2 separate regions of the Homo sapiens genome follow, and region 1 is linked to region 2. Evidence: promoter capture Hi-C in human tissues and cell types (Jung and others, 2019). All regions are on one chromosome and are shown on one strand. The core of a region is centred on a gene start or on the middle of the fragment in contact, and the rest is flanking DNA. Distances in the headings are between cores, read along the strand shown.

Evidence for each region. The method cuts DNA at HindIII sites, captures the fragments that hold promoters and counts their contacts. A contact is called where the count stands out against the background at its distance.
Region 1: a fragment that was not itself captured here is called in contact with the fragment with the promoter of BMP7 in region 2 in 3 of the 25 tissues and cell types used here (dorsolateral prefrontal cortex, mesendoderm cells and thymus).

What each region holds. Positions count from the first base shown.
Region 1 is chr20:57,352,803-57,358,282 of GRCh38, forward strand. RAE1 (ribonucleic acid export 1) reads left to right here. Exons shown (of 12, transcript NM_003610.4): 2 at 1,230-1,326; 3 at 1,910-2,014; 4 at 3,644-3,736. The coding sequence starts at 1,237. It also overlaps the pseudogene MTND1P9. Among named protein-coding and RNA genes, the nearest start is that of RAE1, 4.3 kb to the left of the region's middle. The HindIII fragment of the contact is 5,894 bases long and covers 1-5,227 here.
Region 2 is chr20:57,264,853-57,270,825 of GRCh38, forward strand. BMP7 (bone morphogenetic protein 7) reads right to left here and starts at 1,789. Exons shown (of 7, transcript NM_001719.3): 1 at 853-1,789. The coding sequence starts at 1,270. LOC112268270 (translation initiation factor IF-2-like) reads left to right here and starts at 1,588. Exons shown (of 2, transcript NR_171651.1): 1 at 1,588-1,790; 2 at 1,931-2,435. RefSeq lists an enhancer at 1-168, a promoter at 1,277-4,638 and a cis regulatory region at 1,896-1,988. The HindIII fragment of the contact is 13,311 bases long and covers 1-5,973 here.

The DNA of each region.
Region 1 (5,480 bases), core at 1,031-3,530, 88 kb after region 2:
CCAAAGCCGTGTAACCAGCACCTGGACTGATTGCAGAAGCCTTGTCATGCCTTTGTTCGTTCATACAGCCAACTGGTGTTTCAAGTACCTCTGCATTTGAGGGCAGAAGTGTGGCCGGCAAGGACCACATCCCCTCACGTTCACTAAAATGTACATGTGCTTGTAGCTGTTGCTCTGACCTTTTGTTCTGCACTTATTTTTCATGAAGCTGAGGAAACTCAAATGCCTTCCCCAAATTCCTTGCAGTTTCTCCGTTCTGTGTTGTCTTGTTAGCAAGGATGTCACTCAGCCATTTGGCTCCCTTTGGAGAGGTGACTGGTATGGAGGACTTTTCAGCGTAACAGGTAGTAGGATTGAAATGTGGTTTCAGTGTACGTAACTCCTCGGGGAGTTGGAAGGAAAAAAGAAGGGAAAAGTCGTTTATTGTACCCACTATGAACTAGATACTGCATTTTCTACATAATCTGATTTGATCCCCAGAGCAGCCCTGGAGAATGTGTTAATGTTCTCTATGTTTGCAGAGCAGGAAAATGAAGACTGGTGAGATTAGAGTCCCAACTCCTGAGTGGCAAGAGGCCCTGACCAAACCCTGGTGGGCCTGTTAGATTATGATATTCAAGAAAAAACCCAGGGTGGGAGAGGTTCTTGCTGGGTAAATGTCCAAAACACGATGCCCGACCTTTTTAAAACTTTTACGAAGAAATTGCTGATTCGCTTCCCGGACTGGTTGTTCTAGGTAGTTTCATGCGGATGCTGACCTAAACTAGAATGTAGAAATTAGTAGGAAAGTGAATGCCCACTAGGTGGAAACCTGAAAGCACGGGGACCTGCGATCTTGTTTACTGTTATATTCCTGCTGCGCAGCTCAGGGTCTCTATGTAAAAAATGAGTGAATTTATTTTCTAGCTGGTGCCTACAAAATAATCTGCAATGTATCCATACTGGTTTATTAATGGTAACAAATGAACCGTACTAATATGAGATAATAGGGGAAACTAGATATGGAGTGTATGGGAATTCTATCTTTACTATTTCTGGAAACCTAAAACTACTCTAAAATAGAAGGTTTATGTTTTGAAAGCACTCTGCTCATTGCGCTCTTGTCTGAAAAGTGAAGCCTGGCCTCAAGCCACTTTGAGTATTTCTCTTCTGCCAGTTAATTATCTTACCATTGCCTCTCAGTGATATTAAGAGAAAACCCATCCTTAACATTTTTCATTACTTTTTAGGTTCAAAATGAGCCTGTTTGGAACAACCTCAGGTTTTGGAACCAGTGGGACCAGCATGTTTGGCAGTGCAACTACAGACAATCACAATCCCATGAAGGTACCACGAAAAGCTTCCTGGGGCTTGTAGGAAGAGTTTGGGCAGAGTTTCTCCCATCAAGGACAGAACCCGAGATGACTTGGGAGCCTCCTTTAGGCTGAAAGCTTTGAAACTTTGTCTAACTCATGTTTCTGAAACACTGGAGCACAGAAAATGTGTCCCCGTACTTGTGTCCTGTTCTTCCTGGCCTGCCAGGTCTCCAGAATCACCCAAGGTGCAGATTCCGGTGCAGATTCCCAGGGCCTGGCCCAGCCAGGACTGTTGACTCAGAATTCCCATGGTTGGAGAGAGGGGATGGCAGGTGAAAACTGTGATCTAGCACTGTGGGGCCAGAGTGAACTGGTCATTTAGAAAACAAGACCATGGGCATTTCATTAGCAGCTGCTACTGCTAGTCCTGGTGGTGCTGGTACTTTCTCTAGCTTATTTTTTACTCCTGTCTTTGATCAAAGTAAGGAAAGGTCTAATTCAGTTAGTTCTTGTACACAAGGAAAGGCCACCGTGAGGTAATTAGTGAGAAAGAAAACAATTTGGAATGAAGTTGTGAGCGTGCATACATTTTAACATTGACTTTTTTCCCGCAGGATATTGAAGTAACATCATCTCCTGATGATAGCATTGGTTGTCTGTCTTTTAGCCCACCAACCTTGCCGGGGAACTTTCTTATTGCAGGATCATGGGCTAATGATGTAAGTGCTCCTTAAATACGTGTTCTAGAAATCATCTCTCTTTGTATGGCCAAGGTTAGCTTTAGCTCCGTTGTTTCCCAAGTAAATGAATCAGTTGGACTTATTTATGGCCTTTTTTGAGAAATCAATTTAGGGGGTGTGAACCCTTCTGAATGGCAGACATTATTCTTACACCCGTTTTTGTTAGGAAAGCACAATCATATGTGTTGCTCGAAATTTTCTACTTTAGTTCAGTCTCTTGAAGTTTATTCCCAAATCAAATATCATATTCATCCAGAGTGAACATTATACCCAGTGGCACACACCAACAAATTCCCTTTCTTGGCATCCTGACAGTGTTCCTCAGGCATGTATGAAACTTTTTCAACGTTAAATAATAGCACAGATTTGCCTAGATACTTACTCATCATGTACAAAAAGAAAGACAAAAAAATTACAGTTTACTAAAAGAAAGAAAACTCTGGTAGAAAAATAAGCAAAGGGTGTAAAGAGGGACTTCACAAAAGAAAGAATAAACCTGAACCATTCATCCATGCTTGTAATCAGATAAATGCAAATTTAAGACTTTTTTTTATTAAATTAACAAAATTAAAAGTTTAAAAGAATAATAGTGCCAGCAAGGATAAGCTGAAACCCTGCATGTATGGCTGGTAGGTATGTAAGTTGGCTTTTCCACAGGATAATTGGCAATAGTTATCAAAAATCCTTCAGCTTATACCCTTTATCTCACTGATACCCTTCTGGGACTTGAGTAGGAAATCTGATAATGTACTTCATCTGCATTATCTAAATTAACCTTTATAACAGCCAAAGCACTGTGAACTTGTGAAAATTTTGAAAATTTTAATATCCAGTAGTAATGGCAATGTATAGTATGTTTGTATGATGGAATACCATTGTAAGTTTTTGGAAAAGCTTTTGAACTGTAGCCTACAGCACAGGGGCAGCAGGGGTTAGGAGAACAGGAGGGAGGATGGTAGTCAAGGTTGAGCAAGCTTGCTTTCTACATGTAATTTTTAGAAAGATTTCAGATTATTTGCTGCTTAAAAAAAGGATGTTTCAAGTTGAACAGGCTAGTGATGCAGGTGAGGAAAGCTGTAGCTGCAAAAGTGAAGACACTGTATAATCTAGTGTCTTCCAGAAAATATGCGTACATGGAAAGAAGACTAAGAGCACACAGAACCATTAGCTGTGGTTGTCTGTGGTGTGATTAGGGTGATTTTTATTTTTTTGCCATATTTACAAAATCTCTAAAATGTATTACTTTTTTAACGGAGGGGAGATTATATAAAGTATTCAGAAAAGAGGTAAGTTTCTACTTTGGTCTTGATTCTCTGAATGGTAATGGGTAAGTGATATTCTACTTTAAAAGACATATCTCATAGATGCATTGAGAAAATTATCTGCAATTTTATGTGTAAGCAATAGAATTTGTTTATTTTAATAGCTTAGGCGAAGAAAACAGTTGCTTTCATAGATATTTTAATTCCTTTGTTCTTGAAGTTAGATAATTAGGTTGCTATGAGAAGTCTATGTATGGTTAAGGTGTACCCCATTAGTTTTTAGGTGTTAAATGCAAGCAATACATCGTAATTGCTTTGTTTGCATTGAATTTTTTTGTTACTACAGGTTCGCTGCTGGGAAGTTCAAGACAGTGGACAGACCATTCCAAAAGCCCAGCAGATGCACACTGGGCCTGTGCTTGATGTCTGCTGGAGTGACGTACGTTCCCTTCCATTTCTCGTGTTCCATTTTACTTAAAGTACAGAATGATTTAGAATATTTAATAATCCAAACACAAATAGCATATATGTGTTCATATTGTAGGAATTCTAAGTTTCTGAACATAAATATAGTCATTTATTGATGTTCTTAATGTTGGCTTTAGTTAGCCACTTTCTTTGAAAGCTTTTCTTGTATTAAATTTTGTGTGTGTGATTGAGGAGAGTTTAATGATTAAGGGATAATTTATGAAGAAGCCAGCAGGGAAGGTGAAACACCGGTGCCAAGCTGCAGTGGGCGGGCCTCCTGGAGCACAGCATGAGCTGCAGCTGTAGAGGGGCTTCCACCTGGCGCGGGAGAGCCAGGGGATGAACAGCTGTAGACGGGCCTCGGCCTGGCGAGGGGAGCCAGGGGTTGAACACCCCAGCCTCTCTCCTCCCTTCTCCTGCCATTGCTGCTGGTGGCTGAACCCAACAGTAGTGAGAATGTTAAGGGGCCTGGTGACAGGCAGACACACTGCAGTGCTGAAGAAGCTAAGCCTTGAGGCCCCTTCCGAGGCCTTGTACCTGTTCCTTTAGTCAGGTTTATTGAGTCTGATTTGCCTGCTGTAAAACTGAACCTTTTTGGTATACAGCTCTGTGAGTGTTAAGAAATGCATAGAGTTGTGTTCTAGATATAGAACAGATCCATCGGCCTCCAAATTCTCTTCCTTCCTTTTGTCGTCAAATCCTTCCCAGCTCGCAGCCCCTGGAAACTACTCATCTGTTTTTTTTGTCCCTATAGTTTTGCTTTTACAAGAGTATCATCTAAATAAATCCTATAGGGTGCAACCTTTGCGCTCAGCATGTTGCATTAACGTATGGTGATTGTTTTGTCAGATATATTTCCTATGTTTGGGGTGGGATGCTGGAAATTAGGACAAGCATTGAGATATAGCATCTGCAAAATGCTAATGTAAGTGGTAGGAGTTTTCTCATAAAAGATGTACGAGTTGGTCTTAGCGGTATTGGGGTTATGCCATTCGAATTTGTAAGAAGAGAGTGGTTTAGAAGGGTCTTGGTAATTAAATTTGTGGTATAGAGTTCTGGTAAATATACAGTGTGTAGTGCTCCTAGGAAAATAGTAGTAGTTAGGGCATTTATTATGATAATATTCATGTATTCTGCTATAAAGAAGGGGGCAAATGAGCCTGCGGCATATTCGATGTTGAAGCCTGAGACTAACTCTGACTCTCCTTTTGTTAGATCAAAAGAGGCTCAGTTAGTTTCTGCTAGTGTGGGGATAAATCATATTATGGCTAGGGGCCATGATGATAGGAGCAGTCAGAGGAATTCTTGTGATGAGTATGTGTAAGTTAAATGAGCTGCTTATCAGTAGAACTGATAGCTGGATAATAGCTAGGGTGACTTCATATGAAATCGTGTGGGCCACAGCTCATAGTGCGCTGATTAGTGCATATTTTGAATTAGATGCTCATCCTGATCATAGAATAGATAGACGGCTAGGCTTGATGTGGCTAGTTTAAATAGGAGGCCTACATTAAAATTAGAGGATCTGGTATAGGGAGGGGGGTTCATAAGAGGAGAGCGATAGAGAGGGCTAGGATTGGAGCAATAATATAAAGGGTGATAGTAGATGTTAAGGGCCGCGAGGGTTCTTTGGTGAAAAGTTTTATTGCATCAAAAAATGGTTCAAGCAGTCTGTAAGGACCTACAATGTTGAGTCCTTTGCATAGTTGTATATA
Region 2 (5,973 bases), core at 539-3,038:
GAAACCCTGTCTCTACTAAAAATACAAAATTAGCCAGGCATGGTGGCGCATGCCTGTAATCCCAGCTACTCGGGAGGCTGAGGCACGAGAATCGCTTGAACCCGGGAGGCAGAGGTTGCGGTGAGCAGAGATCGCGCCATTGCACTCCAGACTGGGCGACAAGAGTGAAACTCCGTCTCAAAAAAAAAAAAAAAGAAAAGAAAAGAAAAAAAAAGAAAAAAGAAAAAAATAAACAAAGAAAGAAAACAAAGAAAATTAGCAATGGCACCGTTTCTTCCCCAGCTCCAGCCAAGAGAGAATGGGGCATCCGGCGGCCCGGAGAGGGGCCCCAAGGCGCTCGGAGCGCGCGGTACGCTAAGGCGGGCGCACCACGAGGGGACAGGTAGGGCTTGACAGGGAGGGTAAGGGGGTGCGACGGCCGCGATGCCAGAGCCAGGCAGGGCTGAGAGGGGCCCAGGAAGGGCGGCAAGGCAGCCTCGCCGGGAAGGGCCCTTTACATCCAGGTAGCGCGAGCCGCGCCGGCCCGGGACAGCTCACATGACCGAGCCCCGCGCTTTGAACGGCCCTTGCCTCCAGCCCCAGAGATGCGGCCGGCGGCGTAACATGGAGGGGACTTCGGAGGATCCCTCCTTCCCAGTAACCCCTACAGGCTCACCGAACCCAGCGCGCCCGACCTGGGGGCGCACACAGCTTGGGAGTCATAGGGCTGTGGGTGGGAGACCCTCGGGCAGGCACTGCGATTTCAGCCAGGAGCGGAAAGCTGGGCGGGCTGCATAGAAGAAGCGGCTCCCTCCCTCCCAGTCTCAAAGTGCCCCCGAAAGGAGACGCGTACCCTCGCCTGCCCTTACTCACCGAGGTTGACGAAGCTCATGACCATGTCGGCGTCGGTGAGGAAATGGCTATCTTGCAGGCTGGCCAGAGGGGGGCCCTGGGTACTGAAGACGGCCTTGTAGGGGTAGGAGAAGCCCTGGCCGCCGGGCCCGCCGCCCTCCTCCACCGCCATGGCGTTGTACAGGTCCAGCATGAACATGGGTGCCGAGTTGTGCTTGCCCTGGAGGTGCGGGCGCGGGCGGTGGGGCAAGCCCAAAATGGAGAGGATCTCGCGCTGCATCTCCCGCCGCTCCTGGCTGCGGAGGCGCCGGTGGATGAAGCTCGAGTGCACCTCGTTGTCCAGGCTGAAGTCGGCCAGGGCGGAGCGCAGCAGGAACAGGGGTGCCCAGAGCGCCACGAAGCTGTGCGGCGCCGCAGCTCGCAGTGAGCGCACGTGCATCGCGCCGGCTCTACGCGCTACCCGGGCTCCGGGCTCCGGGCCCGCACCGCCCCAGGTGGCAGAGGGGGCAGGCGGCCGTCCGCGCCGCTCGGTCACTTGCTGCAGACGGGCCCCGCTGCGCCCGCGCCAGACATGGCCCCTCCCCGGCCGGCCGCGCTCTGCCCGGACCCCCGCCCCCTGCTCGGTGCTGGCCCCGGGCCCCTCGCCCCGCACTCGCCCGGGCGCACCGCAGGGCTTGGAAAGCAGCCCCGGCGAACGAAAAGGCGAGTGAGGAGGCGGGCGCGGGTGGGAGGAGCAGCCAGCAAGCCTAGGAGTCCAGAGAGCCAACGCCGGGGAGGCAGCGAGGAGGCAGGCGGGCGGGCGAGCGCTCCTTCTTCCCGCTCCTCTGGCGCTCTCGCCCTCGGGCGGCGGCAACCCACCCTCTTCCAACCTCCGGCGCGGATAGCAGGGGCCCCGGGGCGCTCTCCCAGCCTTGTGCGCCCTGGATCGCACAAGAGGCCGCCTCGGGAGCGCCAGAGTGGTACGCGCTGGGGCCTGGGCGGAGGAGGAGGAGGAGGAGGACGGGCTTCGAGGGGCCCCTCCCGCGCCGGCGGCCTCCCACCTGCCCTCGGCCCCGCCCTCCCCCCAGCTGTGCCCAGTGGGTTCATTCATTCCCTCTAGAGCGCTCGACAAATGTTTACTGAGTGCCCACGGGGTGCCTAGAGCCTGGCGGGACGTCGCGGGGATGCGGCTGGAGGAATCGGAGCCGGCCCTGCCCTCTCGGCACTCGCGGTCCGGACCAGGAAGGCGGCCCGAGCAGGACGGGTGGGCTGCGGACCGCGGTGGGAAAAGTTGGGGGAGCGCGGAGGTGGCGCGGAAATAGAAGGCTTCCTGGAAGCGGTGACCCTTGAGCCGGTCTTGCCCCTCAGTCCCTGTATCCTTTTAAGCCAGCCACGCTGACCCCTCCGCGCCTCCCTGAAGCCGTTGCCAGCCTGTCTCTGCGCTCGCCATTCCCTCCGCCTGGACCTCTCCCCACTCACCACCTCCCGCCCCCATCAGACGCTGCTTTCTCCTCCCAGAGACCTCCAAGACCTGCCAAGCTGAGGTTGTTTCCTCGCCTCGCCCCTCGCACGTTTGTTTTCTTTCCTGTAGTTTCTCTTGCTGTCTGGAATTGCTGTTTGAGTTACTCCGTGCCTTCTTTATTGCCTTCTTACCCCCGCTAGACACCCAGAGCACTGGGGCCCGGATCAGCGATCTTCTCCGCACCTCTGGTACCCGCAGTGCCTTGAACCCAGCGCCTGGTAGCCACTGTAGCTGCGCAGTCACGATTTGTTGAGTGAATAAGTGAACTGCGTGTGAGCTGGGGGGGTTCTTCCCACCTCCTCCTCTTCGGGGCCCTGTATCTTTCCAGCCACCCCTCAGCCTGAGACCAGACACCCCAGCCCCACCACTAGGGCTTCCCATCAGCCCTCCTCGTGGCAGTGCCTGGGGAGCCAGCCGCTGGTCTTCACATCCTCTTCCCCTCCAAGGGTCTGTGCCTGAGACCTCCCCATCGGCCTCCTCTCCTGTCTCTCCTCATCCATTCATCCCTCAATCAATACCGAGCCATGCACGCTGTCACAGGGAGTCCCCAGACCACTCAGAACCCACCGGTCCCTCTGCCGGTGTGGGATCTCAAGGGAATTACTGCACCCAGAGTGGCAGTGAGGGCAGCGGGGTAAAAGTTCATCCTGTCTCCTTCCCCTCCTGGGGCTGGGTGAGAGAGTGGGTCCCCAGAGGGCCTTTGGGATGAACTGGGAAGGGCTGAGGTTGGGGAAGCGGGGGCGCTTGTCTGGGAGGGGCTCTGGCTAAGCCTCACTTTGGGGCTGTCCTTCCTGGAGCAGGAGAGCTGGGGAAGAGAATTATGGTCTTCTACAGTTTTCTGGAGCAGAAGTAGTTTGGCCAAGTGGCCCTCTGGGTCTCCCTTGGGGACTTTTGGACTAGATGGCAGCCTGAGGGGCCACATGGGTGGAGAAAGGGGAGGCCAGAGGCCAGGCAAGGAGCAGAAAAATGCCAGCCTGCAGGTCCTGGCCATTTACACACAGGCCCCAGGCTGTGGGATGGAACAGGTCTTGAGCCCCATGCCAGGGAGGGGCCTCTACCCACCCACCAGGCAAGGCCCTCAAACCACCCCCACCACCTGCTCTTCATCCATTCACTCCTTCCTTCAACAGACAAGCATGGAGCACAGGATATCAGGAGGCGAGCTGTGGGGCCTGCAACCTGGACAGTCGTACAGGGCCCCCCAGCTCTTAAGGGCCCCACACTTGGTTTCCTACTCTGAGGTCACCATATGTGGTTCTGAATCACCTATGAACAAAGTACCCCCTGCCCCGTACTAATTTTGCACCTGGCCCAGATATTATGTGGCCAGTCCCAGGGCCAAGCACCATGCTGGGCAGGAAGACATGGCCATGAGCGAACCCACATGGCAGACTCCATCAAGGAGCCGGCCTCCAGGCCAGGGAAGCAAAGCAAGAGCCTTAAATAAGATTCAGGGACTGAAGGAGAGGCAGATCTTGTCTATCACTCTCTCTGGAAACAATTCAGAAGCCAGGCAGAGGAGGACATGCAGGAGGGAGAAGGAAAGGTGGGCATCCTGGCAAGCAGGAATCCTACCCCAGGGAGACTGGGGAAATTGCAGGAGTGCCACAGTCGTCCAGGGTCCATCTGAGAGTGTACAACTGGAGAGCCTGGGTCACTTCAGCCTGCAATAAGTGACAGGCAGTGGGGGCGGGGGCGCAGATAAACAGGGTGAGGTGATGGAGGGTGGGAAGGGGAGTTTTTGGAGGAGATGCCACTGACCTGAGTCCTGAAAGACAAGAAAGAGACAGGCTTTTCCAGGGAAAGGCATCCCAGGTGGAGGAACAGCAAGTGCTTGAGCCCTGCAGAGCAGGGAACAGAAACCAGGCTCGGTCCCCAGCCCTGCACACGCCCTCCAGCGCTGGCTTGCTAGGGACAGGCTATGCCACCTCCAGTGCCAGTAGAGAAAAAGGAGGTCATTTTCTTCCAAAGTCTGAAATAATAAGGAGCCAAAGCAGCCCTGTTCTTCAGTAGTAGTCTCTGCTTTTTATCTACTCTCAAATCTTTTGGAGGGATCTTCACAAGCAGGTGAGGCTGGGGGCAGGGGCAGCAGGTCTTGGTGCTACAATTTACATATGAAACAACTGATCCGTCAGTGTCTAAGCAAGGATTCTAGTTTACCCTTCTTTGTGCATCTCACCTGAGCCTATTCTGAGCCTGGCACACAGCAGGTGCTCAATTAGTACCTGTTGAATGAATAGTAATAAGCACAGCCAAAACCTAAAGAGACCGGTTGACTGAGGGCTGACTGTGCAGGCGCCAAGCTAAGGCATCTCCCAGATCCCTCACCCCAGCAACCCTTCCTCTGAGACGCCATCTTTTCTCATGCAAGAGGAAGAGACAACATGCTCTTCATATCCAAGACCTCAAGAGATAAGGTTTCCTCTGAAGTCCCACAAACCCCCATTTAGCCTTATCTTTTCTGTGATCCATGCTTGGTGGGGGGGTCTTTCTTTTCCCTGTTTCCTCCCCGAGAGGCATCCCCAAGACTGCACCAGGCCCTCAGTGAATGCCGAATGAATGAATGAATGAATGAATGAATGAATGAATGAAAACCGGCAAGCAAGAAATATCTGGCTGGGAGTGCATCCGATGCCAGTTTGGGAGCTGAGCCCACCACCAGAAAAGGCTTTGAGATTGCCGAGGGCAAGTCTTGTGTGGAGGAGGTAGCCTGGGCACTGGAGCCTGCCCAGCCGCATTCACACTCCAGCTCTGTCTCTTCCAGCTGTGCACCATGGGCAAGGGACTTAACCTCTCTACACCTCAGTTCCCCCATCTGTAAAATGGGGTGACTGATAGCGCCTGTCTTCTGGGATCGCTGTGAGGTTGCAGAACTTAATTCATGGAAAGGGCTTTGCACAGTGCCTGGAACACAGAGAAAACCCTTGATAAATGTTATTGTGTTACCATCTGGATGAAAAGGAAAATATGGTAACAGGAAAGCCTCCTGAGTTACAAAATAACAACAAAACTTTTCATGATGGTCTGCTTTTTGGCCAAGCAGAGAAAAGCAGATGTATCCTGACTCTGAGAGCAAGAGCAAAAGTACCAGAGCAAAAGAGAGAGTGAAGTGGAAGGGAACATGAGAGATGAAAAGGTCATCACTGCATTCCAATCCTCACATTGTGCCTAGGCCCCCTGCAGGCCAGCTGGGGCCCAGGGACTTCCCTGGGTCCTATCTCATTTCCCCAGCAGCTAGCCCCCAACCCACACACCCCCAGTTGTGGTTCCCCTGGCCAGGGCACCCAGCACTGGGCTCCAGGACCGTAATCTGATCTGCCCCAGTCTGCTCCACACCTGGGGCCGCCTTTGCCTGGATGAAAGACGGCCTGGAATTGTAAGGGGTGTTATTGTGTCGGGTGGCCCGGTCCCAGTGTCCGCGCCCCTCGCCTGCTGGCCTCCCAGTGCTGGGCCAGGAGTTTTCATTTCCTACATCATCAGTCACATCTTGCTGAAGTGATTTTGACCAAGTCAGCATGTCTCTCTAAGGCAGTAAAAAGAAGAAAAGAATTCTGCTGACACACACATTGTTCAGCGAGGTGGGGACCTCATCTTCATCCATCTGCCCTAGAGGAGGCTCAGCTGGCCTGGAAGCTCCCTGG